Linked DNA regions of Homo sapiens: region 1 is linked to region 2. The links are contacts of gene promoters, found by promoter capture Hi-C in human tissues and cell types (Jung and others, 2019). All regions are on one chromosome and are shown on one strand. Each heading gives the region's core, a stretch centred on a gene start or on the middle of the fragment in contact. The rest is flanking DNA. Distances are from core to core; before and after follow the strand shown. Region 1 overlaps TMEM132D (transmembrane protein 132D). Region 2 holds the start of TMEM132D (transmembrane protein 132D).

What was found. Contacts are between HindIII fragments. The study calls those that stand out against the background at their distance.
Region 1: a contact is called between a fragment that was not itself captured here and the fragment with the promoter of TMEM132D in region 2, in 2 of the 25 tissues and cell types used here (H1 embryonic stem cells and dorsolateral prefrontal cortex).

What each region holds. Positions count from the first base shown.
Region 1 is chr12:129,831,359-129,834,898 of GRCh38, reverse strand. All of the region lies in intron 1 of TMEM132D (transmembrane protein 132D), which reads left to right. Among named protein-coding and RNA genes, the nearest start is that of TMEM132D, 71 kb to the left of the region's middle. The HindIII fragment of the contact is 4,178 bases long and covers 1-3,418 here.
Region 2 is chr12:129,901,877-129,905,721 of GRCh38, reverse strand. It overlaps TMEM132D (transmembrane protein 132D), which reads left to right and starts at 1,697. Exons shown (of 9, transcript NM_133448.3): 1 at 1,697-2,461. The coding sequence starts at 2,383. The HindIII fragment of the contact is 10,076 bases long and covers 1-3,845 here.

The DNA of each region.
Region 1 (3,540 bases), core at 80-2,579, 70 kb after region 2:
TCAGTTCTTGTTCAGATACCAAAAAGCTCATAGGTTCCATCCACCATGCCCCAAGTTCCTGATGAATAAAACGGCCCAATGTGCAGCCTGTGGGGAATAGAGCATGTGGTTTCCACTTCAAAATGGTGAGATTCAGATGATTTTAAGACGCTGTGCTGGCCTGAGCCCTCTGTGGACGGGGTTCCATTTGTGGGTCTGCACTGTGAGCCCTGCCGCCTGATGCCTTCATCACAGGAATCGTGCTCATCCTGAAACCGACTCAGGTCCTGCTGCTCACTGCCCAGGGACCAGAACAGAAGCGAGGAGTGGTGGAAGGAAAGCGGCTTTATTCCAGTGCTAGCAGCTGGTGCATGGTCAGGCTCATGTCCTCAAAAGACCATTCATCTTTCAGGGCTGAGAGAGGGGGTTTAGGAAGGAAAACTGTATGGGAGATATGCAGGAGTGGTATGGGAGGGAGGGGGCGGGGTGTAGGTCCATGTGCCCTGTTCCAATGGCTATCTTGAGAAATTGCCTGTCCTGAGGTTTGGTTGCCATTATCTTGATGCTGGCCCGATGGTGGTGGTGGACTAATTGTCCATAACTCCATTTAAGCAGCAGCTGGGTCTCGGGACTGGTTTGTTTCAAAACAAGCCCCTAGAATTTCTAAGTAAGTGCATACTTGGAGGAGGGAGAATAGCACATCCGAGTGCCTGGTGGAAAGGAGGGAAGTGAAGTCTTAAAGTGTATTTCCAGGCTACATTCTGAGATGAAGAAGGAAGGGAAAGGAAAAACTGTAAAATGTGTTTCAAGTCTGGGCCACTCGGTTACAATCCCTTATGGAGCAGATGGGCCTCAGTCCTTGAACAGTGATCCGAAAGTTCCTGGGGAGGAAGAACAGAGATGACACCCCCTCAGTGATTCCCCCAACCAGGCTGGGTGTCAGAATCTTGTGGAGAGCACATTTGAAAGTGAGGAATCCTGGGTACTGCTCATATGCGACATGCTTGAATTAAAAAAAAAATAGTTTTAGGCATGTAGGCATTAGGAACAACAGCCGAGATCCCCAGACCTAGTTATGCTATTTGCTTGAGAGGAGTTTCCTGTAGACTGACACCGACTTGTTAAATGCCTTGCCCATGGGCAGAGGAGTGGAAGCTAGAGCTGAAATTGGGGACGGTGCCTGTGGCAATGGGCTGTGAATTTCACATGGGTACAGCTTTATTCTTAGAAAAACACAAATTCACATTAAAAACAGGAATGAAATGAAACAAATATTCTGAGTTTTTTGTTTTTTTGAGATAGGGTCTTGCTCTGTTGCCCAGGCTGGAGAACAGTGGCGTGATCACAGCTCACAGCAGCCTCGAACTCCTGGGCTCAAGCGATCCTCCCACCTCCTCCTCCCAAGTAGCTGGGACTACAGGTGCACACCACCACAGCTGGCTGTTTTTTGTTTTTGTTTTTGTTTTTGTTTTTCATTTTTTTGTAGGGATGGGGTTTCACCACATGGCCCAGGCTGGTCTCAAACTCCTAGGCTCACATGATCCGCCCACCTCAGCCTCCCAAAGTGCTGGGATTACAGGCATGAACCACCATACCCAGCCCAGAAATATTCTTTAATGGTGTAGGAAGGAATTACAAGGGCAGAAAGGGAACAAGGTTTGCCTTTGTGTGTGTCCGACTGTAGCTTACTTGAGGCCTGCATTAAAAACAATTCAGTTGCATGGGTCACACATCAATGCGAGGACAATTTATCTGGAAAAATATCTACGGGGTCTATGAAAGCCAAGTAGAGTTGTGTGTGGAGCACACACTAAACCACAGAACAGCCTGCACTCAGGCACGAGCATCTTCAAGGTCAAAGTCTGGACATCGGCCAGAGGCATTTGTAATTTGCGAGAGGCATCAGTGTGAAGAACCCGTAGGTCAAGGTTGACTTTCTGAGAGTGACCAGCTAAGGTAGGGAGTAGAGGGGGATTGCGAGAAAGAGTTAAATGAGTTTGCTAGTTCTTAGCAAGGTGGAACTTGGATTGAAGGGGTTGAAACTGAATTCAAAACAAGCTCTCTGACAGGTGAAAGTGGGATTATTGGAGACGGTGCCTTTGAAGGACTCCCCCAGGATTCAGAAAAGTGACGGCTCCATAAAGAAAGCCTTCCTCTCAGATCATGGCCGGGTTTGTGGCAACAGTGACGGGCGGAATGGAACAAATGCCTGCAGCGTCCCCTGACTATCTCTGAGCCTGCGCACCTCAGCCCTTCACCTGCCGGGCAGAGGCCTGGGAGGAGGCAGAGGTGGCCATGCTGGGATGGACCTAGTGCTGCAGAAGCCACAAAAATACTCAGATATGCATCATCTTGTTTGATGCTCCCAGTGGACCTATGGGGGAAGCTGCGAGGATGTCATCTCCCCATTTCATAAACAAACAGGCTCCATGGTTTAGTGCAGGGTCTGCAAGCTTTTTTGTAAAGAGCTACGTAGTAAATATATGTCCTATTCGATATGTTATATACCATGTTATAGAATATAATATATAATATTTATGATATATCCTTTTACAAAAATATTTTATGTATATATATAATTTGTAAAACACATGTGGCCTCTGTTACATCTTCTCTTCCTCCTCTTCCTTTTCATTCTTTCCCTCCCCCTTTTTCCTCTCCTTCTTTTCTTTCCGTTATTCTATATCTCTTCCTCCTGTTCCTTCTTCCAACCCTTTAAAAATGCTACAAAACGGCCAGGTGCAGTGGCTGACACCTGTAATCCCAGCTCTTTGGGAGGCTGAGACGGGCGGATCACGAGGTCCGGAGATTGAGACCAGCCTGGCCAACATGGTGAAACCTCGTCTCTACTAAAATACAAAAAAAAAAAAAAAAAAAAAAAAAAGAGCCGGGCATGGTGGCAGGTGCCTGTCGTCCCAGCTACTCGGGAGGCTGAGGCAGGGGGATCTCTGGAACCCGGGAGGTGGAGATTGCAGTGAGCTGAGATCGTGCTACTGCACTCCAGCCTGCCAACAGAGCAAGACTCAGTCTCAAAAAAAAAAAAGAAAAAGAAAGAAAGAAAAAGAAAAGAAAAAAAAATGCTTCAACGTGTGCTTATTTGGAGGTCATGCACAAACAGCCTGGGGGTTGTTGGGAGGCTGGAAGATGCGCACCCTGGGTTTAATGGCTTGCTCAGTTTTTCTGCTGGTCAGTAGAAGAGCTGAGAGCTGGTGAGGTCTGTCGGCTCTGAATCCAGCTCTGTTTCCTACTGAAACTAGAAGCAGGAGGCTAATCATTGTTATAACTGCGTATTCATTCCTTAGAATACAGAATAATAGAGAAAACCGCTAGGTCATGGTCTAAAGCATTCACGTGTGTCGTCTCGTTTGGAATCCACCCTGTTTTATTTTTCACGGCTGAGCCAGCCGAGGCACCGGCCGCATAATCCCCATCCGGGATCAGAAGCTGTCGGGCCTCAGAGCGCCTCTCAAACCCACACTCACTTGGCATCAAAGACCACAGTCTCTCTATATAAAATATCATTGCGCCTTGTGATGGAAGCAGACACACGCAATCGCATTT
Region 2 (3,845 bases), core at 448-2,947:
TTGTTTCTAGTCAATATGTCTGAGAAATGTCTTACAAATAGACTCAGTGTCACAAATAGATGATTTACAAATAGACTCAGACCCACTGTAGCGTTAAGGATGGAACCTGGATTATGCATTCAGTGCGGGCATCAATTTTGACACTCAGAGACCAGGTGAAGGTGTCCAAGAGACGAAAGCTCAGCTCTCTCATCACTCAGGTGAAGGAGAAAGGGGACCAGTGGTTCCAGCACGTGTTCCGCAGGCCGGCAGCATCAGCATCACCTGGAACTTTTTAGGAACGGAGATCGGAAGTCCCACCTTGACCTGCCGAGATAGCTCTGGGGTGGGCCCAGCAACCCAGGTCTAACAAATTTTCCAGTGACTCTCCTGCTGGTTCAAACTTCAGAAACAGTGAAAGAGACAATCTCTTAGGGTCTTTGCAGCGTCGACTCTTAGGAATTTTACAGGAGAGCAATACAAAGAGAAAAGGCAACAAGTTTAAGAAACAAACAAAAGAAAAAACAGAAAGACAGATATATTCAGATAAGTAGATACAGAATAAAAGACAAGAGCACATCTCAAAGGACATGAACCCAGAAAAACAATCTTCGGTAGAACAGCAGTGGCTTTTTTGATCTTCCTTGAAACTTTGAAAGCTAAAAACTCTTAAAGCATTGGTATATTTCTGCAACTACAGGCATACAGGATAAAAAAGTCCATTGCCCCCTCAGTCAGATGATAACGACCCATTTTTATCTACTGAGGTGAATTCACCTCATTAGATTCAGGGCTTGTTGGTTTACAATATTCCTTAAAAATTCTGAATGCTTTTCTTCCCTCTGAGCTTTGATGGGGTTAATTTAAAGGCTCTCGTGGAGCAAAGCAGTTCTTGGGCTACAAATTACAGGACGGTGCTTAGGGATCTTGGTGTGGGAATGTCTTAGTTGGAGATTCCGGGCGGTGTTGAGAATCATGTCTTTTATCTTCTCAAAGCAATGTTGTCTCCTAATGGATCCATTTCCTTTCCCAGTGAGCCCTGGGGAGCACACGACATGTTTCTAGGGACACTAACTTGGGGGATCGCTCTGGGAAGGGGCTTGGGGCCAGCATGACCTCAGTGTGGCGTGTCAGAGACTTCCTCACTGCGATCCCTGGGAGATGCGCAGGGCGGGGCGAGGGCCCTTCTCCAGCCATCCTTGCGCTCTCCCTGGCGAAGAGCCTCAGGTGCCCCCGGGCTGGAGGACCTCCCCTGGGCCTGAGGTTTTGATGACGACGAGAGGCCGGTGGCCAGCTGGACACCTGTTGGGAGAGTGGGTGGCTCCGTCCCCGGGGTGCGCCCGCGCTGGGAGCCCTCGCCCGCCGCCACCGCGCGTCCGCGCTCGCAGGGAGGGTGGCCGGGAGGCTGGGCGTGGGGCGGCCAGGGGGAGGTGGGATTTACTTTGCGGATTGGGGCTCACAGCTGTCACTCCGAAAGGGTGGGGCTTTTTAAAAGCAGACAAATTTTTAAGGCGAAAGCCCCAGCCGGCTCCGGGCACCGTGGCGATCGCCTCCGTTCCGTTCCGGATGCGGTCCTTGCGGAGCGGAGCCCCCGCGCCTGCTGGCAGGAGGCAGCTGCGTTGCTCGGCCGCGTCCCCGAGCCGGCGGGCCCTCCTCCGCGCACATCTGGCCCGCCTCCCCCGGGCGCAGGGGGGAGCCCCGCGTCTCCGGAGCCTGCAGTGCGCTCGGCGCGCGTAGAGCCCCGCGAGCCCCAGCCGGGCCCGGGGCCGGGCGGGCCGAGGCGGCGGCCGGGGAGCAGCCGCACCCGCCAAACTTTGGGTGCCGGAGCGCGCGCGCGCCCGAGCCCCGAGGCGCAGCGGCCGGCCTGGGATGGGGGCTGCGGGCCAGGGAGCCCCGGGCCGCCCAGCGAGCCCGGCCACCCGCCCGGGGGGCTCCGAGCCGCCTCTGCCCGCGTCCCGGGCTCCGCAGCCCCGCCACCCCGGCGCCGCCTGCGCCAGCGCCCGCTAGCCAGCCCGGGAGCAGCTGGAGCCGCCGGAGCCCTGCGCCTGGAGGCGCCCCTCCTTGGGCCACCGGGGGCCACTCTTCGCTCGGGTAAACAGGAAAGGAAATACCCCCTGTGGATTAAAATTTAAAAAAAATTCTGTTGGGGTCGAAGGAGGGAGGTGGGGTTTGCCTGCGCGCGTGTTGGACTCCGGAGAGCAACTCAGGAGCCCGCGCGGTCGTCGCCTCCCGGCCTGGCCATGGACTGGCGGGAAGAGGGAGCAGGGCGCCCGGGCTGCTCGGGCCCCTAGCCGGGCGCTCCCTCGCCACCGGCCCCGCTGCGGGCCTCTAGGGGACTGAGACGGTCTCTTGTTCGCCTGGACGGCGCCGGGGAGCGGAGGATCTGCGCTCCGGGTCTCCAGGATGTGCCCGTCTGAGATGGGGACGCTGTGGCACCACTGGTCGCCGGTACTCATCAGCCTGGCCGCCCTGTTTTCCAAAGGTGAGGACGCCGCGGCCGCCAGGGCCCGGGGACTAACTTCGCCTGGAGTGAGTGTGTGGGAGTGTGTGGAGGATGGGGGCGGCCGGGAGAGAGGGCTCGTGTGCAAGTGTGTGTGCGCGCTTGTGTGCATGTGTGTGTGCGCGCGTGTGAACGTGCGCTCGTGCGGCAGCCAAGCTCCTCGGACGCCCCTTGGCCGAAGGTGCTTGTCCTGGAGCACTTGGGTGGGAGGCCTTAGGTGAGACTACTAAGGAGCCGAAAGGAAAGGAAGGCTGTTTCCTGAAAGCCTTTTCTGTAAAGGGAGAGGGCGTGGGGACCCTTGAGAGGAAAGGTGGCCTCTGGAGGGCCGAGCCGGCTGTCGGGGGAGGAGGGGATTGAGATGACCAGGGAGATTTCTGGAATTTGGGATTGACTTTCCCTGGTGGCACTGACCTATTTGGAAATAATTTTGGAGCACTCCTGTTGTATGGGAATACTATTTTGTGTATTATAGGCTGCCAAAAATATAGCCTGGGGGGCGGCTCTGAAGAAGGGGGATGGGTTTCTCCAGGTCTGCCGCTGTGAGGTTTGGGCACAGGGTCTGGCGCTCACCCTTCCGTAGGGTGCTGGGAGCAGCAGCGGCCCCGCAGGGTGCACGTGGAGTTTCAGCTACAAGTTGTGACCCGAATTTTCCCAGCGGAGCCCTGACTTGAAGCCATGTGTCAAGGCAGGAATTCCTCAATGTTTCCTCTTCTCTTCTGCCAGCATCCCTGTCTGTCATGGGAAGAGCAAGTTTGGAAGCTCTGGACAGTCATTCTTCCTTGAAGAGAAATGGTGTGATTTGTGCGGGAGATTCTTTCTCATGATTGACCTGGGCTGCTTGTGTGTGGTTCCCCCACCCGTGCCCCTTTCCTGCAGATAGATACACTGGGAGGAGAGTGAAGCGTCTCAGCAGTCTCTAATACGTGCTGCAAGAACCCTGTACCCATATTTTTCTGCAAAGATTTTTGAGATGAGATCTCTCTCAGAAACTTCAAAGCCAATTATCACGCACAAAGTCTTTTAATTACATGAATTGTCTGTTCTCTGAGTTCTTCCAGAATCACTGAGGTTATGTTGCTTTGGATCTGATAATAGATGAAGACAGTTGAAATGCCGAGTTCTGTGATGGTTCGATTTAGAAAGAGGAATTTACGTTCCCCCTCCTTCCCTGTCTTTGAAGTGTGGTTGAAATGGGCTCACGTTTCCTAATTATGAGTTAGAACAATCCCTGGGATCAGAGCCTTCTGGATTTATAATGTGCACAGGAAACCAAAGAAAAGGTTGATGAATTCAGTGAACCTGACTCAGGCAGACGTGAGGTTAAAAAAACCAAAATCCACAGCAACAACAGCCCAGCATTTTTTTT